Regions from separate parts of the Homo sapiens genome. Here region 2 is linked to region 1. Evidence: promoter capture Hi-C in 16 types of primary human blood cells and fetal thymus (Javierre and others, 2016). All regions are on one chromosome and are shown on one strand. The core of a region is centred on a gene start or on the middle of the fragment in contact, and the rest is flanking DNA. Distances in the headings are between cores, read along the strand shown. Region 1 holds the start of SMCP (sperm mitochondria associated cysteine rich protein). Region 2 holds the start of LCE6A (late cornified envelope 6A).

What was found. Contacts are between HindIII fragments. The CHiCAGO score rates a contact against its expected background, and 5 or more counts as called.
Region 2: a contact is called between the fragment with the promoter of LCE6A here and the fragment with the promoter of SMCP in region 1, in 2 of 17 cell types (total CD8 T cells and total CD4 T cells). The highest score is 5.5, in total CD8 T cells.

What each region holds. Positions count from the first base shown.
Region 1 is chr1:152,875,803-152,882,971 of GRCh38, reverse strand. SMCP (sperm mitochondria associated cysteine rich protein) reads right to left here and starts at 4,650. Exons shown (of 2, transcript NM_030663.3): 1 at 4,526-4,650. RefSeq lists enhancers at 1,925-2,104, 2,465-2,524, 2,655-2,734. The HindIII fragment of the contact is 18,030 bases long and covers 1-7,169 here.
Region 2 is chr1:152,838,112-152,845,317 of GRCh38, reverse strand. LCE6A (late cornified envelope 6A) reads right to left here and starts at 2,462. Exons shown (of 2, transcript NM_001128600.2): 1 at 2,307-2,462; 2 at 1,335-1,818. The coding sequence starts at 1,797. The coding sequence ends at 1,555. The HindIII fragment of the contact is 3,660 bases long and covers 1,047-4,706 here.

The DNA of each region.
Region 1 (7,169 bases), core at 3,401-5,900:
CCCAGGTTCAAGCGATTCTCCTGCCTCGGCCTCCGGAGTACCTGAGATTACAGATGCCTACCACCACGCCCAGCAAATTTTTGTATTTTTAGTAGAGATGGGGTTTTGCCATGTTAGCCAGGCTGGTCTCGAACTCCTGACCTCTGGTGATCTGACCACCTCAGCCTCTCAAAGTGCTGGGATTACAGGCGTGAGCCAATGTCCCAGCCCCCAAACTTGTTTTTTAAACTGAGCCAGTTACTGCTGTGGGCTTTCCACTAAGCACACACATGCCCATATCTCTGTGAGAGTGTGTGTGTGTGTGTGTGTGTGCACCTAAGTGCATGTAGGCATGTGTCCATGCATAATTATAGGTACATGGAGAGAAGAACTTGAGGTTTGTGATGATGGCTGTTTAACAAATTGAGATTGCTTGAACTTTCTCATGAGTCTTTACAGTTAGAGCCAGTGTGAATAGCTCCTAGTAGGGGCCAGCCTCTGTCCTGGCCTTCTCTCTCCTGCTGGGTGCTCCCTACTTGCCCTCTATCCTATCCTGACCTGCTGTCAGGCTGCTTCCCCACAGCCCTGCTCCAAACACTCTCCCTGATGTTTAGAAAGCCACATCTCTTGTCTTGTCCTCTTCTTTTGTGTCCTGTAGATAAAGGGACTCCTGGGGACAGTAGCTACAAATCTCTCCTCACATTAAAGTCTTTCTGGGGGAGGGCCGGACACAGTGGCTCACGTCTGTAATCCCAGCACTTTGGGAGGTCGAGGCAGGTGGATCACCTGAGGTCGGGGGTTCAGAACCAGCCTGGCCAACATGGTGAAACCCTGTCTCTACAAAAAATAGAAAAATGGGCATGGTGGCAGGTGCCTGTAATCCCAGATACTTGGGAGACTGAGGCAGGAGAATCGCTTGAACCCAGGAGGTGGAGGTTACAGTGAGCTGAGATCGTGCCATTGCACTCCAGCCTTGGCAAGAAGAGCAAAACTCCATCTCAAAAAATAAAATAAAGTAAAATAAAATAAAATAAAATAATTTCTGGGGGTTACCCCATGATATGGTTTGGCTCTGTGTATGTACCTCACAAAATCTGATGGTTTTATAAGCATCTGACATTTCCCCTGTTCTTACTTCTCTCTCCCACCACTATGTGAAGAAGGTCCTTCCCCTTTGCCTTCTGCCATGATTGTGTTTCCTGAGGCCTTCTCAGACATGTGGAACTGTGAATCGATTAAACTTCTTTCCTTTATAAATTATCCAGTCTTGGGTAGTATCTTTTTTTTTTTTTTTTTTTGAGACGGAGTCTCGCTCTGTCGCCCAGGCCGGACTGCGGACTGCAGTGGCGCAATCTCGGCTCACTGCAAGCTCCGCTTCCCGGGTTCACGCCATTCTCCTGCCTCAGCCTCCCGAGTAGCTGGGACTACAGGCGCCCGCCACCACGCCCGGCTAATTTTTTGTATTTTTAGTAGAGACGGGGTTTCACCTTGTTAGCCAGGATGGTCTCGATCTCCTGACCTCATGATCCACCCGCCTCGGCCTCCCAAAGTGCTGGGATTACAGGCGTGAGCCACCGCGCCCGGCCGGGTAGTATCTTTATAGCAGTGTGGAAATGGACTAATCCACCCCAGTAGGACAAAAATCTGTATCATCCTCTCCTGAAGGTGTGCAGGATTCTCCAGTCAGGTGGTTGCTAAAGGACGCCTGTTAGATGACCTACTTTGCTATCTGAATCACCCTTGTGACTTTATAGAAGACCCAGGGCTGTGGCTATCCTGAATGATGGGTGACATGCTCTTAGACTCAACCCTTTTTTATCTGGGGATTCACCTAAATCCAGTTCATAGTGTACAAACTGGGTCCCATTGAGCCAGGTGTGGCCGACAGCGCCACCCACTAGAAACAGTAACTTTCAGACTCACACGTTGGACCCAGCCCCAGCGCAGACTCTCTTCACTTTCACTTTCTGAACCATTGGAGCCTCATCTCAGGGTTTCTCTGTGGGAAGGAGGGGAGCACAGTGCTACCTCTTATAAGGACCCCTATGTTTGAATCTCCTGAACTACAGCATTAGGGTGAGAGAAGATTGGGAGGGAAGAGTTATCTCTTAAGGCCCTGCCACCTGGTATAAACCTTTCATGATCCTAAGTCCCTGGCTATATGGCTGCAGCCTGAACTGGGTCAAGGGCAGTTCCCACCTAAAAAGGGGAGAGTGACTTGGGTTAGGATGTTGGCTTTAATTCAGTCATGACTCTATCTCTGCCAGTTATTCCTGGATTCATCCTATCTTTCAGGAAAAGGCCCCTGCTTCCATTTAAGAGGAAGACACTAGAGCAAAGACTCCTAAAGGATGGGGGTGGGGACAAGTCACCCTATTGCTCCTTCTAGGTCAGAGGAAGCTGCAAAGAGGCTGAGGTGGCAGATACAGGCCCTGCGATGCCTTGACTTGCCCGAGAGAGAACAGGAAGGAGAGAGGTGAGCAATGGAGAGGCACACCAAAAATGGAAATAAGACGGAGACAGACCAGTATAAAAATAGGGAAGAGGTGAGAGAGTACAGGGCCATGTTCTCTACCACCTTTGCAGTGTTCAAAGCTGTTTGACAGGAAGTGTGTGTGTGTGTCCACACGCACACACAAGCACACACTTGGGTGCCCCTGCAGCTGTACAGTGGTGAATTTGGGTGTGCCGGGGTATGCAGGGAGCCCAGTATCTGTCCGTATCTCCTTGTTGTTTGAATCTGCTCCCTTAGAGGTCAGACCTAAGACTAGGTTTTGAGAGGGACGAGGGAGGAGTGAGCCCCTTCTGTTTTTATTTTCTGTTGTTCCTCTCTGTGTTTATTTTTGCCTTTTGCTATTTTTTTTTCCTCTCTGCCTCTCTATCATTCTCTGGTCTTCATTCTGTCTCTACCTTTCTGTCTTTTGTCTCTGGTTTACCTTTCTCTACTCTGAAGGTCAGTGCCCTGAATTGACCAAAGTGCAGAGTCTCATCACCACTTGGAAGTCCAGTTTGTTAGTGTCCATCTTTACAAGTCCAGACTGAGCTGTTTCTACAGAAGCAATTCTCATTCCAGTGATCAGAGGTGCAGAGGCATCAGAGGCACCTGGAGCCCAGGTCCAGGGGCTTGCCTCACCAGTCCCACCAATGTCCCCACTCCAAGCATGTCCCCCATAGTGAGATCCTGGGAATAGGTCCTGAATGTGGAGGTTGTGCAATATCAGAGAAGGACAGCAGGTTGGAAACCAGTCTTGTTGACTGTAGCATAGGGAGGGCAACATCAAGTCCTTCTGCAACCTCACCCCCATGGATGCAGGTCCTGCCCCTCTGAGCCAGTGCTGTCTCCACTGTCTTCCTTCTGCCTGGTGAATAGTATCTATATCCTCCACTTTCAGAACCCTGGCTCCTGTCCAACAAACCTGCCTCCTGGACCCCTCTGCCTCCTGCAAGAGTTTCTTCTTAAGATTCTCTCCTTGGCCGGGCACAATGGCTCACACCTGTTGTCCCAGCGCTTTGGGAGGCTGGGACGGGTGAATCACTTGAGGTCAGGAGTTTGAGACCAGCCTGGCCAACATGGCAAAACTCCATCTCTACTGAAAATACAAAAATTAGCTGGGTGTGGTGGCGTGCACCTGTAATACCAGCTACTTGGGAAGCTGAGGCAGGAGAATCACTTGAATCCGGGAGGTAGAAGTTACAGTGAGCCGAGACCTCACCACTGCACTCCAGCCTGGGTGACAGAGTGAGACTCCATCTCAATAAATAAATAAAAAGAAACAAACAAATAAATAAATATTCTCTCCAAGCTCCATTTCCCTTCCTTCCCAACCATGCTGTGCACAGCCTGCCTCAGGAAATCTGCCTAATCATGTCAAACACTTGTGGTGCAAGGCCAGGGCCATCTTCCTAGCTCTTATTGCTCTATTCAGAGAGGATTGATACAGAGCCCAAACCACCAGGAGGGCTCTGGCAAGGCACCTTCTCCCTCTGCCCACAGGCCCAGCCTCATGTCCAAACACTGTTCCCTCAGGCACCAGACTGGCTCAGAGCAGACACCTGCTGAATTTTCTCACCTCTTTCCAGGTCTTTGAATGTGCTCTTTCCCAGCTTAAACCACCCTTCCTGGGTCTCTGTCCCCACATGCTCACTGAATATCGTTCAAACCTGAAGTCTCTGCTTACACATCACTCCTCGAGGAAAACTTCCTTAACCCAAAACCTCCATCTCCCTGAAAGGCTTTCTTGGATCCCCTGTACTTCCCATTACATTTTTATAGTGGTTATTATTTTCCCAATTGTCTCACTTTTGTGGTCTGTTAGTTCCATAAACACAGGCATTCTCACTATCCCCACCCCCAGTGGCTCCCATGTCTTCCTCTTAAATAGAAGCAGGAGCTTTTTCCTGAAAGATAGGATGAATCCTGGAATCCTCTCATCCAACACACTGAATGGCATTGCATGGGTCTCAGTAGGTAAATACGTAATGAACTAATGAACACATGAAAAAGCCATGGAGAGAGGACCCAAAAGACAATGTTTCTCTGTGTTACCTGGTCTGGCCACACACACAATTCACAATTTCCATGCTTGACTTCTCATGACTGATTCCAGTAGGTATTATTGATCTTCCTCAGCAGCCTAGTGAGTCCATGACTATCAGAAGCCAAAGCCTTCTGAACCAGATGGGTTCCCTTCCCTGCTAATGCCAAGATTCTAAGCCTCTATGACACCATAATTCTCTCCACAAGACTCTATGCCTAGCTCACTCACTGGCGCCCCCTGCCTGCTGGAGAGTCTGTCTCTTTGGTTTCTTTCCTGAAAGATAAAAAGAAAGCTCCCTAGCTAACCCATAAGCATGCAATAACCTAAAACACAAATCTGTATTGATTGTCTCCTATCTACCAGGCTCTGTCCTAAAAAGTGAAGTGTAGCTCAATGGGATGTAGTTCCCATTCTCAAAGATCTAATTCAATATGGAGGCAAGTCAATAGCCAACAATACCATGTGATAATAATGATGGTAGGATAAGCACAGGGGTCAGGTTTGGGGGTCAGATATGCTTCCTGGAGGGAGTGATATTTAAGCTGAGACTTGGAAATTGGAAATAGGAAGTTGGACATAGGGGTGTGTCTGGGAGGACATTTTCAGATCCAGAAATGTGAAAGTATAGGCTATTTGGTGGAAAAGCTCAGTGTGGCTGGAGCAGAGTGGGGAGTAAGGAGAAGGGGGAGATTCACCTACCTAGGTAGGTAAGGCTGTGTTGGTGAGGACCTTTATGCCATAAGAAAAAGAGTTTGGACTTTATCCTGAGGACAATGGGAACCACTGAAAGGTTTTAAACAGGGGAGAAACTGGGATGCCTTAGGGGCCAGGACCCTATTTTATTCACTTTGATATTCCCAGTGTCTGGCTGAGCAATTGGCACATAAAAGATTCTGAAACTGAATCAATTGAATAGTGAATTGACTAAAATAATGATAAGAGAGAAGCATTTCATTATGTTTACTCTTTCCTTTTCTTCCTGTAGCATGGCCTCTTTGAGGACAGTGACTAGGAAATTCTGTTCTTCTGGGAAGCATGCCTGCCATAAACATTTGTAGGACACCAGGCAAGAGCACAAACAGAGGCTTCTGACCCCTGTGGTTCACCCCTGGTTCTCTTCCTACTCCCTGGCTTCATCTTGTGTCACGAGGGACCTCGGGCGTGCATGAGTGTAAATATCCTAGTCCATACCGTCCATGTTCTTTTCATACATGGATCTCTCAAACTGCCCCTCTCTTGGTCATTGAGACCTAGAAGTGAGCACAGTATTGGCTGTTTGAGTCTTCAAGAGGATAGACACATAAAGGTGATCTCAGGGCCAGTTGACAGAGATTTCTGGGGTCCTGGATAGCTGGAGTGAGAGAGACAGCAGCTCTGGGCCTGTACCCTGGACCTATTGAATCATCCTATGGGGGTGGGTCATGGCTGGAGGAGAGCCAGAGAAGGACTCTTTAAAGTCTGAAGTCCAGGACAGAACCACCTCGGCCAAAGGGTAGCACTCTTGGGAAGTATGTGAATTGTGCTTTTCATTCTATAATAGCCTATTCAAGTATTTCTCTTTTACTTGTCTTCTTCAGGTCTTCATGCTTATAGTTATCTCTAAAATTTATTCTCAGTAAAATGTCTACTCTTATTCACATCTCCCAAAGTCTCTAACATTGTAGTTGGGACCAAAGCCTTAATCTATAAGAATTAAGTTCTTTCTAGGAAGAGTACGGAGAGGGAGAGAGAGGTAGAGTGAGAGAGAGAGGTGGAAATGGCCAACAAATCTATGAAGAAATGCTTATTCATAACTAAAGGAATGCAAACCAGAAGATCAATGAGACACTGGCTTTTCTATGACAGTCTGGCAACAAATATGAAATTTTGATCACATTAGTTGTTAATGAATATGTTGAGAAACAGGTATTTTCATATTCTGTTAATGAGATTTCATTTTACAATCATGTAATAGGATAGTATATAGCTAATAAAAACAGAGTCCAGTTGTAGATGATGCTATGAAAAATTCTCCCAACTATGTAATCAAAGAAAGCAATCCAGTAAACAATATGTTAGTATATTCCTTTTCTTATAAAAAGAATGTATATACGGAGATATATACAAAATAAGATAAACATATATGTTAGTATACATAAATATTTTCCTAGAAGAATCAAATACACACAAACTATTTGAATTTTTAACCATGATGCATATTAGTTTGTTAAAATTAAGCTAATGAAGGCTATCTAGAAGGTGAGGATAGATATACTTTCTGCTCACCATTTAAATTCTATTTCCAACACAATGTATGGAACATCCTAGGTACTAAATCCACATTTAGTAAATAAATACATGGAAGAATAATTTAGCCAGTACATTAACTTGGAACTCTTTGTGTTCCTGTTCTTCTGCCTGGCTACTTCCTGCTGGAGTCCTTGGTTCTCTTTTCTTCTCCATCAATACTCATTTTCTTGGTTAGAACATTCAGTCTCCTGACCATGAAGGCCATCTATATGTCATTGATGATGGTGTCTACTTTGTTAATAACAGCTGAGAAATCTCTCCGGAACTTCAGACTTTCATATTCAACTGCTTATTTATTTAGTATTCTCACATGGATATCTAATAGACATCTCATATTTAATGTGCTCACAACTGAGCTATTGA
Region 2 (7,206 bases), core at 1,213-3,712, 35 kb after region 1:
ATCTCCATTAACAAATCTTTTTTTTTTCTTTTTTTTTTTTTATTATACTTTAAGTTTTAGGGTACATGTGCACATTGTGCAGGTTAGTTACATATGCCCATTAACAAATCTTTATACAAGTGTGTGTCATTTGTTTAATGAGAAAAATCATGCATATGAAATTATAATTATATATAACCATGATACATATCTGCATATAGATGTGTGTCATCACAAAGGTGACATCATGTCCCAGCAATGAGGAGAATTACTAAGCTCTGAAAATGAGAATCCCATATACTGGATATTACAGGTTGAAATTCTGTTCTGAGCCTGGTCAATACAATCTATTGAGTTGGATATTTGGTTAAAAAAAGTAATGCTTTTAATGTCTTGCCAAAAATGCAGATCAACAAAATTATTTACATAAACTTATATTTATATGCATCATAGTTGAGCTTCAAGTCCCCTTCAAGTCTGTGTAATTTATGTCATGCTTCCCTCATCTCAGACTACTAGACTTGGGGTTTGGGCCCAGACTTTTCCCAGAGGTATGATCTTTTGGTAGCTGGTGTTTGATACCTAAAGCTCAGTAAACTCAGCTGGTTTGAATTATCATGAAGACTTGGGGTTATGAACTGTGTCATATCTCTCATCTCACACCTGGCACTCCAGCCAAATTGAAATACACACCATTGGCAAGTACCACCCTTGTTATGCATTTGTTTATGCTGGATCTTCCACCTGGATGAACTTTCCTCTTCACTGCACCTCCTAGCACCAAAGTCTGCTATCTTTAGAGGTCTGGGAGCCTCTTCTCCCCACTCCCAAGTGGGATACTCTCTTTCCTTCCAAGGCCTAGGAAACCACATTTGATCCACACCATCAGAATGGTTCTCCTCTCTCTGCTGTCTTTGACCTAAGGTACTTTTTAAATTTCTGCTTTAAGTTCTTTTGAACACAAATGAGAGATAAAAATGAGTAAATTAATCAGCTTAAAATGATATTTACTAATCCACTTGTTTCTATCTGAAGTGTCCATTGCATCTCCTACTGGATTATAAGCTTTCTAGAGCAGGGACAAATTTCCCACTTACATCTGTAAACACAGAGGCCAGTACACAGTAGGTGCTCAACATATGTTTATTGTAGTCTTTGGTGCTAGAATCATGCAATGACATGGGTTGATGGCTGTGAGGCTGCTGGAAACTGGGACATAAATCCCAGAACATCTGCTTCTTAAAAATACTATCAGCTGTCTTAAGAGGAAGGAGGAGAAGCACCATGCACTTGGGTTGAAGCGGGGGTCTCAGTACATCTGAGCAGGGGTCTCAAGAACTCACAGAAGTCAGGGCTCCAAGTAAAGCAGCTTTATTGTTGCTGAGCTGAAGGGGTGAATGGAAGAGAGCAGTAGCAGCGTGGCTCAGCCTAGTTCTCGCTTCTCTAGAGCTGGGGATCAGGAAGTGTTTCTCAGTCCAAATGAGAGGTTGAGGGCCTGGCTTTCCAAGGGGGAATTAGTACCCAAAGGTGGGGCAGGGAGAGAGTAACTGCACCTGTGCCTCAACTCTTCTGGGCTCAGTCGCCTTCACACTCTTCCTCTTTGCAGTGGTAGGTTGTGCCCCTACTTAGGCAGCGCAGCTTTTGACGAGCCCTCCTAGGCTTCTGAACCTCAGGCCTTTGGGAACTGGAATGACAACCTTCTGAATGGGGAGCACCACAAGGAGTCGAGTAGGGAGCTAGGCAGGGGTTTGATCTTTGGGGAGGGGAGCATTTGGGAACATTTGGAGGCTTCCAAGATTGCTGCTTCTGCTGTGACATTGCTTGGCTACCAGGTCGAATCTGGAAGAAAAATAGTTATATCAGGGACCCAGGCAGCTTGGGCTTCTGTTTCTCTCCTCCACAAACTGGAGCTGTCAAAAATGAAGTCCAGCATTTACAACCCACTGAACTCCATCTCAGGAGGAGAAAAACGGACTTGAAAGGACTAAATATTTGGGAGTAAATCTTCCCAGGGGACTCACTTACTAATAACCATGTTAATGATATATGCTTCCTTAAAAAAAAAAAAAGACAAATTGTACTTAGTTGAGCTGACAGTTTACTTTTCCCAGCCCAATGTCCACCTGGTTAAGTGCAAAGGAGAGCCAAGTCTCTGCTCTTTCTTTACTCTGTCTTATTCTGTCCCCAGACTCCTAAGTCTGACTGTCCCATCTCTGCTTTTCTGGCCCTCTAACTTCTATGGCTTTCTCCCATGTTAGATTATTTGGGGTCTTTCTTTTGCAGGGATCCACTTCTCTTCCCTTCTTTCTACCCCAAGCATCTCCTACCTGGCTTTTCAGCTCCCTGGGAAGAGACGAGAGGAGAGATCAGGACTGCCTAAGCAGCACTTGAGCTACATCCAAGTGTCTCCTCAGCCAGAAGTAGCCTTACCCTAGTGGAAGATGTGTGGACAAGTTATCCCAGGAGGAGTCTGGAGGCCTTGTGTTGCCAGGAAGTAAGAGGCTCTTTTATATATCCTCCAGTTGAAGCCTCCAGGCCACATGTCATTGGAGGAGAGCCATGGAGTGGATGATTGATCTGGGTATTTCACAATTCCCAGTGCTAGATTCCTCAGCTACATGTAGCTGGGATGTGGTTCAAAGGCATCTGCAGGTGCGTGAGTGAGCAGAAGGCTGGGGCCTTCAGATTGGCCTACGCAGAAGTGGGTACACTGGCTAATCTGGATGATGTCCTTGGGAGGCTGGGCGGGTTGCAGCTGCTGTTGAATTCTATGTAGGATTGGAGGGAAAAATCAGGTTCGACATCACCCAGGGTCTGAGGAAGACCTTCCTTGTCTACTCCCCACCCATCATCCATGACTGTCAGCATCCCATTCCGTGTCATCACCTCTGTGGAGATTGGCCCATTGCTCTAGCCACACATGAGTCCTTCATCCTCTGACCTTTATAGATACATGTCACAGCCTTTACTATTGCTTTGGGTCGTGTGACCAAGATACATATCCTATCTCACCTATTAAACTGTTATTTGATGACAGTGCCTTTATCACTTCTGCATTCCTAGAGCCTGATGTTGTTCCTGACACAAAGAAAATACTCATTAGTATTTGTTGAATGAAACAGTCTATGTGCCATTAGAAAAGACTTTGTGTTTCAGGAGAAAAAAACAGGAATAAAATAAAGCCCAACTCATTTTGTTTTGTGGACGAGACCTTGACTTCTTGTTTCCATCATTCTCCCCTAAGGCATTTGTGAACACCCTTTCATAAATACTACAGGGAACTCTGTGGGTGGACCTCACCTTACACAATAGGCTGAGCAGAGGGTGGGAAGCAAAACCTTCACACACCTGCTGTCTCTTAAATGCAAAAGGGGAGCTGTTCTTGGAATTATCAAGGGACATTGTGGAAAAGCCTTCCACAGAGTGAAAAGTTCTTCTTTAGCTTTCATGAAAATTGAGATAATCATGTTTTGGCAGTGCTTAAATTGGGAACATTCTCTAAACACAGTCCCTCACCTCTGGATGCTTCCATCTCAGAATCGCTCCTGGTGTGCCCAGCTAAGTTAAAAGGCACTGATGAAACTCCCTGCTGCTCAAGAGTGTGCCTCACCTGCCTCTGTATTTCTGATGCCTGACACACAGTAGGTATTCAGGAAACAGTTGGGTAAATAAAAAGATGAGCAATTACAAGGAACATTCTGACTGTAGGGGCAGTCCTCAAAGGCCTTCAAATCATGTATAGGACAAAGGTGAGTAGGGTTGGGGTATGGGAGAGGGTATGAAGACCAGGGTGGAAAATAGGACAAGGCCAGAAAAGGAGCAGCTATTGGATCCCAAAATCCAGCAGGGCAGGATCATCAGGTTTCAATTGCTTCATCTGGGAAAACTTTGAGATGCAGTTTGGATGGAGGAAGAGAAGATCTTTGTGAGTGAAACAGCAGGTGGAAGAATGGTATGAAACCTCGCTCACTCTGTTAGAGCAGAGCCCTGGAGAGAGAGTGCCTGATTTAGACAGCCTCAGGGATAGACCCCATCTTCCTTTACTTCCTTTTCCCTTTTCTCTCTCCTTCTCTTTCTCCTCTTTTCTTCCCTCAGACACCAGAAATAACTCTGATGGTGCCTCAGAAGTGCTTCCCTTGCACTAAGCATTAGCAGGAAGGCAAAGTAACACTGGTCTCAATGCACCAGTTGCTCCTTTTCCCCACCCAAGACCTGCACCACTTAAACACATGCTTCAGAGACCTCACACATCACAAATGCATTTTTTTGAAGTTAACTAGCAAGTACCCAACCCTTACTGTCTCTGCCTAGGGCTGAGGGTTCTTTCTGGAGGCTCTGCCCTAGGCAAACTACACTTCCTGCCCCTTCTATATCTCTCCCAGACCACCTCCCATAATAAATTGCCCACAGAAATCTCTTAGCCCCCTCCTTTTCAGTACAGTGAATTTCATCACATATAGGATGGAGTGTGTCCAGCATCTAGATTTGCCTAGCTCATTAAGTGAGCCTGTTTGAGGCCCCTGAGCTGCACTGTCTTCCAGATAAACTTAAAAGTCCAGCCAGTTTTAAATCAGGACCACAGAAATGTAATGTTCTTATTCTAATCCCACTCCACTTCTCTTCCTGGTTCAGATTGTGTCTATAATTATGTGATTTGATATTTATTAAGTCCCAACTATGTACTGGATACAAGAAAGAATAAGATGTCTATATTATGTTTCAAAGCTTTCACTCTCCAGAGGGAATACAGACAAATTAATAGGTAACACAAGCTTGTAAGTGAAAAATCGGCAAATAGGCAAACTGTAGTTGTAGCTTGAGAATACAACTAGTCCTCTTAAATGTACCAAATTAGAAAGGTAGTGTCTCAAGTATGTAGCTCCCACCATTATCAGAGTCCCCACCTGGTCTGAAGACAGGAGCCCATCTCTGAGAATAATCCCATCTCATTCCTGGTCTCTATTCAGGAGACTGTTTCTCTGAGCAAGAGATATCTCTAGGTCCCCAGCCTCAAATGAAGTTGCTTGGCTTCCCATGACTGGGTTTCTCTTTGGTCAATTTCTTTCTGATATCTCAAATCATTTAACTATTCCTGAAGTAACTCCTCAAATATATTTTTAAAATCTCTTTTATTTTGCTTTATGTTTTTAATGAATAATTGCCCTGACTGTTAAGTGTTCATTCAGAACACTCTGATGTCTTCCGGATAAATCTAAATTCCTTTAGCCAGCATTCAAGTCCCTGTGTATACTCGAACCTATCCCATCGCTTTATGCTTAACTTCTGGAACTTCCTTTCATTATGTCTCCTCCTCTGCTGAATGGATGGATTTATTGTATGGTGAACTGGCTTTTATCCTGTCTGATGTCCGTCTGTCTCTACCTCTCTTTCTTCCTCCCTTTTCCACTCTATCTCTTTGTCTTCCTCTTATTTCCTCAGCCTGCCTGCCTTCCTTCTTCCTCTCTTTTTTTCTTTCTTCCTTCCTTCTTTTTTCTTTCTTTCTTTCTTTCCTTTCCTTTCTTTCTTTCTTCCTTTCTTTTTTCTTTTCTTTCTTTTTCTTTTTCTTTTTGTCTTTCTTTGTGTCTTACTTCTTGTCTTTCTTGGTTCCTCTTCTGAGACTACTTCCGAGGGCCAGTTCAAATCCCGTGTTCTCTGTAATGAATTTCTAGACAATGCCTGGCTGAGAAAATCTTTCAGAGCATTTATTACTTGTTATACATATAATTTATTATCATAAACAATTGTACTTGTATGTGATATTGTTAATGCCTTGAACATGGGGCTATTATCTGTATATCTCAAGCCCCATTTCAGTGTACACAATGGTTCATTACAGTTACTAGTTATTAGGTTTGTTAATTATTAAGTTTTTAAAAATCCCCATCACAGATGTTTGCAAAGAACTTTAGTTTACAGAATGCTTTTCAAATATTATGTCCTGAGTCAATTAATTCTGATGAAATACAGACTCAGGCCATGATGAAATCAGACACTTACAGTGAGTTTGGGATTGTCCACATCACACTGTGGGCACCTCAACTATATTTCCTGAACACTATTATATTTTTACTTAGACTGTGCCAAAGAGTTTAGTTTGAGGGGAGTGTTCATGTCCTTTGTAGGGACATGGATGAAATTGGAAATCATCATTCTCAGTAAACTATCGCAAGAACAAAAAAACCAAACACCGCATATTCTCACTCATAGGTGAGAATTGAACAATGAGATCACATGGACACAGGAAGGGGAATATCACACTCTGGGGACTGTGGTGGGGGGGGAGGGGGGAGGGATAGCATTGGGAGATATACCTAATGCTAGATGACGAGTTAGTGGGTGCAGCGCACCAGCATGGCACATGTATACATACGTAACTAACCTGCACAATGTGCACATGTACCCTAAAACTTAAAGTATAATAAAAAAATAAATAAATAAATAAATAAATAAAAGAAATCTATATCATGTTTTCTACAGGTACTTCTTATTTTAGAACCCAGCCCTGCTCATGTTTTCTTAGGAAGAAAGGCCAAGAGATCTGGTCCTACCTCTTTCCTCCAGGTAGGATGGTATCCAAACCACCAATTATCCTGACTTGTACTCAAGACTATAATATCATCAGAACTGGCTTGTTAATCTAGGCCAAGCTTGTTCAACTCCTGTGGGCCCCATGTGACCCAGGACGGCTTTGAATGTGACCCATCACAAATTTGTAAACCTTCTTAAAACATGAAATTTTTTGTGATTTTTTTTAGACCATCATCTATTGTTAGTATTATTGTGTGGCCCAAGTATTAATAGTATTTTATGTGTGGCCCAAGACAATTTTTCTTCTTCCAATGTGGACCAAGGAAGCCAAAAGATTGGATGCCCCTGATGTAGACCATTGGATATAAGTGGTTTAGTTTCCATTTCAATAGAATAAATTGTCATTGGCAAAAGAAGAGCTTAGTGTAGTGTTTTCTTCATCAGACGAGTAAGTCTCTTTTTTCCCTTTCTCATCATCCAAAGAAAGAGAAAAGAAAGCTTCTAAGATTTAGAAGAAAATAATTAAAACTGTGTCCACAGCAGGAAGGGGAACATCACACACCGGGCCTGTTGTGGGGTGGGGGAAGTGGGGAGGGAAAGCATTAGGAGATATACCTAATGTAAATGATGAGTTAATGGGTGCAGCACACCGACATGGCACATATATACATATGTAACAAACCTGCACATTGTGCACAT